3 separate regions of the Homo sapiens genome follow, and all the other regions are linked to region 2. The links are contacts of gene promoters, found by promoter capture Hi-C in human tissues and cell types (Jung and others, 2019). All regions are on one chromosome and are shown on one strand. Each heading gives the region's core, a stretch centred on a gene start or on the middle of the fragment in contact. The rest is flanking DNA. Distances are from core to core; before and after follow the strand shown. Region 1 overlaps SEZ6 (seizure related 6 homolog). Region 2 holds the start of SEZ6 (seizure related 6 homolog). Region 3 has its middle 26 kb from the start of PIPOX.

Region 1 (3,541 bases), core at 306-2,805, 40 kb before region 2:
CTCAGGAGATAGGCTGCAAACAGAGAACGGGTGACACTGTGTATGTGTGCAGGGTGGGGGCGGGAGCTGGGCCATTGGTTGGGGGAGGTCTGCCTCAGTCTGCCTGGAGGTGTCATTTGGGGCCAGAGGAAGCACTAGGAGTTCCAAAACAACTCCAATCTCCTCCCTAGAAGGTTACCAGTGATATTTCCAGCAGCCTGGGCTGGTTAGTGGAGCAGACAGAGCTGGAAATTAGAAGGGTTAGGTTCTGGCTCAAGCTTTATGACACTTTAGGCAGGTTATTTAATCTTTGTGTGTGTGTTTCCTCATTTGTTAAATGAGGTTTAAAATCCTAGCCTACCTACAGGGTTACTGTGAGAAGAAATGATAGAGTATTTTATCTAGCTTGGTATCTCTGGTACCCAGCTGATATTATATCTTCAGGAAATGCTTATTGAATGACTCGTAGACATGAAAGCACTTGAAATAGTGAAAAACCTATACAGATGTAAAGTGTTGATACTGTTTTTCCTTTAGGGAATAAATATGAATTGCAGCAGCAAAGAGTGAAATCAGACAGTAAAGGCTTTCCCAGTATTCACTGAGAAATGCTAAAAAGCTTGATGCCAATGGCCATGGACTTCTTTTAAAACCAGAATGGTGGCCGGGCCGGTGTCTCATGCCTGTAATCCCAGCACTTTGGGAGGCCGAGGTGGGCGGATCACCTGAGGTCGGGAGTTCGAGACAAGCCTGACCAACATGGATAAACCCCGTCTCTACTAAAAATACAAAATTAGCCGGGCATGGTGGCGCATGCCTGTAATCCCAGCTACGGGGGAGGCTGAGGCAGGAGAATCGCTTGAACCCGGGAGGTGGAGGTTGTGGTGAGCTGAGATCACTCCATTGCATTCCTGCTTGGGCAACGAGAGCAAAACTCCATCTCAAAACAAACAAACAGCCGGGAGTGGTGGCTCATGCCTGTAATCCCAGCACTTTGGGAGGCCGAAGTGGGCGGATCACCTGAGGTCAGGAGGTCGAGACCAGCCTGGCCAACATGGAGAAACCCCATCTCTACTAAAAATACAAAAATCAGCCGGACGTGATGGCAGGCGCCTGTAATCCCAGCTACTCGGGAGGCTGAGGCAGGAGAATCGCTTGAACCCGGCAGGTGGAGGTTGCAGTGAGCCGAGATCGTGCCATTGCGCTCCAGCCTAGGGGACGAGAGCGAGACTTCATCTCAAAAAAACAAACTTACAAACAAACAAAATCCAGAATGGTGGTAGGCTGGGGCAAGGTGGGAGGATTGCTTGAGGCCAGGAGTTCAAGAGCAGCCTGGGCAACATAGTGAGGTCCCCATCTCTGTAAAAAATTTTTAAAAAATACCCAGGCATGGTGATGTGTACCTGTAGTCTTAGCTACTCAGGAGGCTGAAGTGGGATCGCTTGAGCCTAGGAGTTTAAGGCTGCAGTGAACTATGATTGCACCACTGCGCTCCAGCCTAGGTGACAGAGTGAGTCCCTGTTTCGAAAAACAACATCAAACAAACAAGAAAAAGATGGGGACGAGGGTAGGGAGGCAGTGCACTGCCTTCATGGAAGTTGGGGAAAGAACAAGTTGCCCTGGGAAAGCTGGTAGCTTTGGAATTGTCATACCAAATTTGACCAAATGGTGGCAGCAAATCCTACAAAACAATCTGGCATATCCCGATCCTGGGGTCAAGCTGGGGTGGTAGCTAAAAGGATCAACCCGGTGCAGTGGCTCACGCCTGTAATCCCAGCACTTTGGGAGGCTGAGGTGGACGGATGGCCTGAGGTCAAGAGTTCAAGACCAGCCTGGCCAACATGGCAAAACCCCATCTCTACTAATAAAATACAAAAATATTAGCTGGGCATGGTGGCAGGCGCCTGTTATCCCAGCTACTCGGGAGGCTGAGGCAGGAGAATCGCTTGGACCGGGGAGATGGAGGTTGCAGTGAGTCGATATCATGCCATTGCACTCCAGCCTGGGCGACAGAGTGAGACTCCATGTTCCAAAAAATAAAATAAATAAATAAAATAAAATAAAATAAAATAAAAGTGAAGATCCAGCTGGGCACGGTGGCTCACACCTGTAATCCCAGCACTTTGGGAGGCCGAGGCAGGTGGATAACAAAATCAGGAGTTCGAGACCAGCTAACATGGTAAAACCCCATCTCTACTAAAAATACAAAAAAAAAAAAAATGATCTGGGCATGGTGGCACGCGCCTGTAGTCCCAGTTACTTGGGAGGCTGAGGCAGGAGAATCGCTTGAACTCGGGAGGCAGAGGTTGCAGTGAGTGGAGATTGCGCTACTGCACTCCAGCCTGGGCGGCAGAGTGAGACTCTTTCTCAAAAAAAAGTGAAGATCCTGGCTTGCGTCTAAGAGGTGAGAGCAAAGGCCTGGAGGGGTCAAGGAGAGGCTGAGAGGCTTGTGCTACAGAGCCTGATAACCCTTGGGGTGGTAGGAAAAGTGAGGACTGTCTAGACTGAAGATCTTGGGTCTTGGGGTAGGGGGCAGCCCCACTGATGGTATCAGGTAAATGGGAGGAGAGGTCCATGCAAGGCCTCTGTTCCTGGGTGCCTTTGTGTGAATAGAAAAATGGGCCCTCTTTCTTCCCCCCCATTAAAAAGAAAAAGAAAAAGAAAAAGAGGCTGTCTCAGGGCAGACCAGGGTCCAGAAATTTGAGTTTTATGACTTTCACCTGTCCTGTTACTATGTCTGTGAAAGTGGGAGGAGAATTCCTCCTCTTCTGTCTCTCATGGGGCTCTGGAGAGAATGGTCGGTAAGTGGCTAGTTGTGCTTGGCAGGCAGTACAGGGCAGTGCTTAGCAGGTGGGCTGTGGGTCAGACTGCCTGGGTTTGAATGCAGGCTTCTTCCCTACGTGCTGTGCCACCGTGGGCAAGTTACCTAAATTCTCTGTGCCTCAGTTGCCTCATTTATCCACCCACTTTCAGTATTACATCCAAGGTTGTGGAGGTTAAGTGAGAAGACATATGTGCAGTTCCTGAACAAATGCCTAAGACATCAGCCTGCTGTTATTGTTTGTAATCTTGATTAATAATAGCACCTCACATCTACATGTACTTTCCAGATTCTAAAATGCCTTCACACTCTTCTTTCTTGATGTCTACAATATGCTTGGGAGAAAGGCAGGCAAGGTAGGGGCTATGAGCCCATTTTCAGATGAGAACAGGTTCAGAGAGACCCTGTGCCCTCATCACACAGCAAGGAAGTACTAGACCAGGAACTTGAAGCTCCTGGGCTCTGAAGCCTTCTTGCTTTCCACCACCACCCCACCTGCTTCCTCATTTGAAGTAGAAACTTGGGTTCAGGGGTCAGAGAAATCTGAGAGTAACAGACAAGCCTGCTCTGGGTGGTTGTCCAGGGCAGCCACTCACAGTGACCTGGGGAGAGGTCCCAGTCCAGGATGGGATGGAGAAAGGGGTGTGGGGCACCACACCCAGAGTGGAGGAGGTTAAGAGGTTAACTGACGCCTAGTGGGGTCTAGACCATGAGCCAGGCTCAGGCCCAGCATTTCCCCTT
Region 2 (3,366 bases), core at 144-2,643:
AAGATCGAGCAGGGAGGTTAGAAACTCCCACCCTCACACTTCACATCAGGCCCTTCAAACCATATGGCAAGGGATGGCAGGTCTCAACTCCAAGTGCGGTTCTGCCGACCCTACCAGCCTACTGCAGCGGGAGAAGGACGTGGGTGCCAGTAGCTTCCATGAGAGCTTGTTTGAGCCAGGACGGCAGGTCCAGACAAGACTCTTCCCCGAGGCACGGAACCCCTATCCTCTCCCCAACACTCCCTTGCCGCTCACACCATGGCCAAGCTTCCCTCTACCCAAGACCGACGAAGTTGGGGACCAGACTCCTAGAGGGGGCGCGGGGATTCTCAGGGTGTGGGGAACAGGTCCTCCAGAGACAAATCTGCCTTGCAGGTGGGGAGTGGACCAGGGCCGGGCAGGAAGGCAGGCCGGGAGGGAGGCAGAGCTCGGGGCAGTGGTGTGTGTGTGTGTGTGTGTGTGTGTGTGTGTGTGTGTGTACAAGGAAAGGACTTTGGGGAGGACAGAGTCTCTATCCCAGGATCTCCGCTGCTGCAGCCGAGGGCAGAGCCAGGAGCCAGATAGGGGGTCCAGGCCCTTGGAGTTTCTCTCTAGAATTGTGCTCTAGGTCCCGACTCTGGCGTGGCAGCGCCAGGGCATGGGGAGGTGAGCGAGGTCCCAACCCCGGGTCCGGCCGCCATCCGGCCCCGTCTCCCCTCAGTAAGAACACTAGAGGCCCTGGAACCGGCGGCAAAGTCGAGCGAAGTTTGGCGGGCGGCAGGGGAAGCGGGACCACGGGCCGCCAGCTGGACCGTCCCGACTCACTGCCTTGCGCCCCCCGGCACGCGCCCCAGCACCCTGAGATGCCTAGAGTGTGGCGAGGTAGCGCGCGGGTGAGCGCGTGTGTGCGGGGAGTGGGTGGCGTGATGAATTGCATCAGAGAAATCCCATTAGATCTGGGGAGATGATTAAAGACGAGGTCTCGGCCGGGCGCGAATGGCGGGAGCCGCGGCAGCTTCCCGCCCGCGAAGCCCGCGCCCCGCCCGGCTTGGCCGGCGCCGGGGGCAGCGCAGCCGGCGGGGCGCGGTGCTTGGACTGGGCAGCCAGATGCCCGAAGCTGGGCACCGGGTCTCCCTTCCCACCCCTGGGGCCCCGCTCCCGCCCCCGTCCTGCCGCCGGATGCCGGGGTCCCTTACCGTGAGCCAGGAGCGCCAGCAGCGAGGGCAGGAGCAGCAGGGCTACCGGGCGCATGGTGCTGGTTGCGGCCGCGCCCTGGGCTGGGACCGCGGCGGGAGGGCGGGGGGCTTGGTGGGGCTTGGGCGCGGGGGCAGAGCCGGGTCCGGCCGGGTAGAGGGAGCGGGGCCGCAGCCGTCACCGCCGCTGCCGCCGCCAGCGCCTGACAGAATCAGCACCACGGCCAGCGCCTGGCGACGGCGCCGGGGATCGCCGAGCGGGGCTGGGGGCGGGGGCGCGGGAGGAGCGGCTTACCGTAAAGTCTCATGCAAAGGCGCAGAGACCCAGGGGCAGGAGCCCAGGCTCCCGCTCCACCGCGACTGCCCTACTCATGTGGGCACACGGCCCCTGCCCTTCTGCGCTGCCCACCCCCAGCCAAGCATGCCACCCTCTTTCCCGTTAACGGCCTGCTAAGGAACCTCAATTAATAGCTCACTGTAGCCTTCTGATTCTCCATGAGAAAGAGCAACACTTTCCCCACCCCTCTCCACCCAATCCTGGTACCTGAGGGCGTCAAGGGTGACCTGGGAAGACATCCGAGAGTGAGGCAGCTGGTGAGGCCCGCGTGCCCTTGTGGCAGTTCCGTCTTGGGACGATAATGAAGATGGCTTTTGAGCGTACAAAGGATAATAAATTATTACTTTGCGCTCAATAAATGCCAGGGCTCCAGGCAGCTGCATCAGCAGCAAACTGTGCTCACAGAAAAGCTTAATTATCCTGATATTATAGTTAAAAGCCAGTGGCACTCGCATCCTGGGGAGACATTCTTCACTTGGCAGGAGGCAACCTGGGCCAAGCTGTGGGCAGCTGAAGGTAGTATCCTGGGTCCCCACGTAGCCCTGGGTCTCCAGGACTCTGCCTTGGCCCCTCTGCAGGACCAGAGAAGCCACAGTGACAGTCGATACAGACCCTTCATGCCATCTCTGCCCAGGTTTCTGGAATTGGTGGAGAAAATGGCATAGGCATGAGAGAGGGTTTCCTAGAGCTGTTATTTTATTTTATTTTATTATTGTTTTTAGAGACAGGGTCTCTGTTGCTTAGGCTGGAAATGCAGTGGCACAATTATATTAATAGCTCACCCAAACTCCTGGGCTCAAGAGATCCTCCCACTTCAGCCTCTCAAGTAGCTAGAACTACAGGCATGCACCCCCAAGCCTGGCTAATTTTTAAATTTTTTGCAGAGATAAGGTCTCATTATGTTGCCCAAACTGGTCTTGAAATCCTGGCCTCAAGAGATCCTCCCGCCTTGGCCTCCCAAAGTGCTGGGATTACAGGCATGAGCCACTGTGCCCTACGGCTGTTTTAGATAGAGACTTGAAGGAGGCCCAGGGGTGTAGCCTGTACTATTAAAGGCATGGAAAAATAACTTTCCAGGGCCCTGCTTGGGCTGAGGAGCCCCAGTGAGTCACAGGACAGCAAGGGGGCAGTCACAGCTGTGCCATCCTGAGGCTGCTCTTTAAAGGCAGGGGCTCATGGATGGGCTCACTTGAAGAGCTTTAATGGGTACAATGGGACAGGATCCTATGGCTGATGTTATTATTCCCTGTAGAGGAATAGGAGGGCTGAACTCCCTATTGCCCCTGGGAGAAGGGCAGTTTTTTGTTTAGTTTCTTTTTACATGAACTTGGTTGCTCTCCAAAGCTTCCAGACTCCAGTCATTGTCCAGTGTCCTTCCTGACCCTCATCCTGGAAGCAGGTGGTGAAATTTCTGCTCAAGTTCCTTAGAGAGTGTTTTGGTCCTCTTGACCAGAGTCTCCCAACTCTGCTGGTTGGATTCTCTCCAGACCCTCTTCTTGTGGGCTCTGGGGAGCTGTGATGACTGCTGTAAAGAGTCCCAGGCAGCAGGCAGATGGCGTGTGGAATTAGGAAGACGCTGGGATTTCTGGACAGTTGTTTTGAGAAGCTGAGGAAAAAGAGGGCAGCAGCAGAAGGATGGCAGGAAGAAGGAGGAGCTGATGCAAGAATCAGGGGTGAGGAGAGGAAGCCAGGAAAGAAGGTGCAAGAGGGGAGGCAGAAAGAGAGTTGCCAACAGAGGAAGGGAAGAGACACAGAGGTAGAAGGTTGTGTGACCGGGGGAAGTTTAGGAAAATGCTGGCAAATGTCATGAGATTCCTCTTTTCCTCCTTGAAAGTATTCCTGGGCTCCTCTAGTATT
Region 3 (3,354 bases), core at 13-2,512, 63 kb after region 2:
AAACTCCTTTTTTTCTTTTTGAGACAGAGTCTCACCCGTCGCCCAGGCTGGAGTGCAATGGCATGATCTCGTCTCACTGCAAACTCCACCTTCAAGGGATTCTCCTGCCTCAGCCTCCCGAGTAGCTGGGATTACATGTTCCCGCCAACACGCCCAGCTAATTTTTTTTTTTTTTTTTGAGACGGAGTCTTGCTCTGTCGCCCAGGCTGGAGTGCAGTGGCTCGGATCTCTGCTCACTGCAAGCTCCGCCTCCTGGGTTCATGCCATTCTCCTGCCTCAGCCTCCCGAGTAGCTGGGACTACAGGCACCCGCCACCATGCCCGGCTAATTTTTTGTATTTTTTTAGTAGAGATGGGGTTTCATCGTGTTAGCCAGGATGGTCTTGATCTCCTGACCTCGTGATCCACCCGCCTCAGCCTCCCAAAGTGCTGGGATTACAGGCGTGAGCCACCGTGCCCGGCCTAATTTTTGTATTTTTAGTAGAGAGGGGGTTTCACCATCTTGGCCAGGCTGGTCTCGAACTCCTGACTCCAGGTGATCCACCCACCTCAGCCTTAACTCCTTTTTTTTTTAAATTTCCATTTTCAAATTCCCTAGTGTCCTCTCTTTCCCAAATCCATTTGCTGCTTTTCCTAATCTAGTCAGATCATAGATGTGGCACAAAACATATAAAAATTTCTTAAAATGTGGAAACTCTTTGACTCTTAAGCCACTTCAAATATAATTTGGCTGGATAGTGTCAAAACGTAATATCCTTTTTGAATTTTCTTTTCTTCTAAAACTGTCATAGCTGACTTTTGATATCTACAGCAAATTCTATCTGCACATATAAGTATTCCACTGGGGGATTTATGTGACTGACTTCAGTCGCAAAGCACACACTCTTTTTGGAATCTCCCTTATGTTTATGACCCATCTCTGGGGCTCACGCTACAGAAGACTCAATTTCTCTGTACAATTCCTTCTAAACACATCCAGTATCCTTGTTAACTCCAAAATGGCTACTGCTCTGGAAATCTTTCCTCCCAGATCAAATAGCAGGGAATGGTCTGGATTGTTGTTGTACTGTAATGAAATTAGACTGAAGTGAATATAGCTTAAAATATGCATTCTGAGCGATGTGGAACTGTTATTCATATTGCTGGCACAGTGGGAGTGAAGTGAAAATGTGATAATATATGGGGGATGCTCTGAAAATTGTGAAGCGCGACGCAAATGTGAAGTAGATATTTTCCCCCCAAATTGCCAAGAAGCGTTTCCTTTCTGAGGCCAGGACTTGGCGAATGCCAGGCACACGCGATTTGAGATGAGGACCATGGTAGTGATTCTTTGCTTTCTTGCCTCTCACTGCATCCTCTGCCAAGGCCAGAATAGTTAGGAGACGCCTGGCCAGCTGCTGGAAGCAAGTTGAGGACTCTGCTTAGAAAGATGACATCACCCCTCAGCCTCAGTTTTCTTTCCAGGATGACGTCTTCACAGAGTTGTGATGGAGGTGAAATGAGATTTTGTAGGGCAAAGTGCTTAAGCGCTGGGGTCATCATAGTAAGTGCTCAACAAATGGGAACTGTTGTTGGTCCTTTTTTTTTTTTTTTGAGATGAAGTCTCTCTCTTGTCCCCTAGGCCAGAGTGCAATGACACGATCTTGGCTCACTGCAACCTCTGCCTCCCGGGTTCAAGCGATTCTCCTGCCTCAGCCCCCCAAGTAGCTGGGATTACAGGTGCCTGCCACCACGCACGGCTAATTTTTGTATTGTTTTTAGTTGAGATGGGGTTTCACCATGTTGGCCAGGCTGGTCTTGAACTCCTGACCTCAGGTGATCCACCCTCCTCGGCCTCCCAAAAGTACTGGGATTACAGGCGTAAGCCACCGCACCCGGCCAATTATTGCTCTTATTACCCTCCTCTCACTACTGACAGGGTAGGAAGGGGCCTGTCAGTCCCAGTCACTGACTCTGGGCCTCAGCTCAGGCCAGAGTTCCAAGGGCCCTTAAAAGGGCGGGAAACATTATTTCCGGGTTGCTCGGAGAGTAGACCTGTCCTAATGCCGCTGTAATCATTAAAAGGGCAACACAGATGGGCTGCCCATCGGCGGCTTGAAAACCCATTTCTTTTAAGGGGAGTGGCTTCTGGGAAGTGCGTAAAGAACCTCCAGGCAGGGGCGGGACCAGAGGGCCACGTGCGCCAATGAAAAGTGGATATGCAAATATATATATGAATATGCTAACGAGCTCTCGGTTTCCCAGTGAATGGTAGGGCACAAGCCTGGACTGGCAGAGCGGGCTAGGGAAGAAGAGGAAATGAGAGGACCTCGAGGTTCAACCGAGTGTCTGAATGGAAACTAACTCCCGACAGACCATGCACAACGTTTCTTCCACAGCACCCGGATCTCGAAGCCCCACTGGGCATCAACTGTCAGTCCCTCACTAGGGGGGATGAAGGGGGAGGGCGTGGGAGATTCTTTTGGCTGTGGTAAGGAGCTCTGAATTTAGAAGCCAGAAGGTTCTTGCCAGCAATACTACCTTGTTTCACAGATGGGGAAACTGAGGCCTGACAGGTTAAGCCCCTTCTCCAAGGTCGCAGTGCTAGACGCAGAAGAACTCAGTTTGGCAGGTTTTGTCTATTTTTGCTTTGTTTTCATTACTGCACGGGGGCACCACTCTGGAGGTGAAAAGGCAGCAGCCTGAAAGGCGGCAGAGCTTGGTACATTACCGAACGTGTCGGACTGCCCACCAGGCTGGAGGTTTTAGAAAATATGTCCTAGGAGAAGATGGAAGGAGTCAGGGTGGCCGCCAGTAGAAGCAGGCAAGGACAAATTATCATAGACTTGTCTGGAATGTGTTGCTATATAAAAGGTGACGAAGTGTTCCAGCTTCCCAGAGAACCGGTGCAGTGGAAATGAACGGGGAACAGAAGGGATTAGGGTTAGATTTAAGGCAGTACTTTCTCCCAGGGATGATAATGGGGCCCTTCATTCAGTGACCAAGGCAGGCTAGGGACTCATCCCCCTCCCACTTCCGAGGCCTTTGGGAATCCATTTCCCTCCAGTCCCACACGGCCAGCTTGGAGGTCAGGAATGAATTAGAAGACTTTGAAAAGTCCCCACTATTCAGGTAGGCGATCCTTTCCCTGGATGGGCCTCCTGGGCTCTTTGCTGAGGGTAAGGACAGCAGCCGCTCTGGCTCCAGGGCCCTGGGGAAGAAACAGCAGTCATGGCATCTCTTGCAACACGCTCCCTGCCAAATTGATTCAAATTGGCTTGGATATGAACATATGATTAAAGGAGCGGCGCGATTCATTTATCAGGAGAGATTAAAGAGCGGCATCTGCGCAGCCTAGCTGGGGGACAATTAAGGA

What was found. Contacts are between HindIII fragments. The study calls those that stand out against the background at their distance.
Region 1: a contact is called between a fragment that was not itself captured here and the fragment with the promoter of SEZ6 in region 2, in 4 of the 25 tissues and cell types used here (H1 embryonic stem cells, liver, mesendoderm cells and 1 more).
Region 3: a fragment that was not itself captured here is called in contact with the fragment with the promoter of SEZ6 in region 2 in 3 of the 25 tissues and cell types used here (hippocampus, mesendoderm cells and thymus).

The regions. Positions count from the first base shown.
Region 1 is chr17:28,964,135-28,967,675 of GRCh38, forward strand. It overlaps SEZ6 (seizure related 6 homolog), which reads right to left. Exons shown (of 17, transcript NM_178860.5): 5 at 1-13. The region is part of intron 1 of LOC105371716 (a long non-coding RNA gene); the gene reads left to right. Among named protein-coding and RNA genes, the nearest start is that of PHF12, 14 kb to the left of the region's middle. RefSeq lists an enhancer at 3,493-3,541. The HindIII fragment of the contact is 3,586 bases long and covers 1-3,348 here.
Region 2 is chr17:29,004,640-29,008,005 of GRCh38, forward strand. SEZ6 (seizure related 6 homolog) reads right to left here and starts at 1,394. Exons shown (of 17, transcript NM_178860.5): 1 at 1,176-1,394. The coding sequence starts at 1,230. The region is part of intron 2 of LOC105371716 (a long non-coding RNA gene); the gene reads left to right. RefSeq lists a silencer at 1,157-1,340. The HindIII fragment of the contact is 3,335 bases long and covers 1-2,386 here.
Region 3 is chr17:29,067,667-29,071,020 of GRCh38, forward strand. No RefSeq gene overlaps it. Among named protein-coding and RNA genes, the nearest start is that of PIPOX, 26 kb to the left of the region's middle. The HindIII fragment of the contact is 5,950 bases long and covers 1-3,354 here.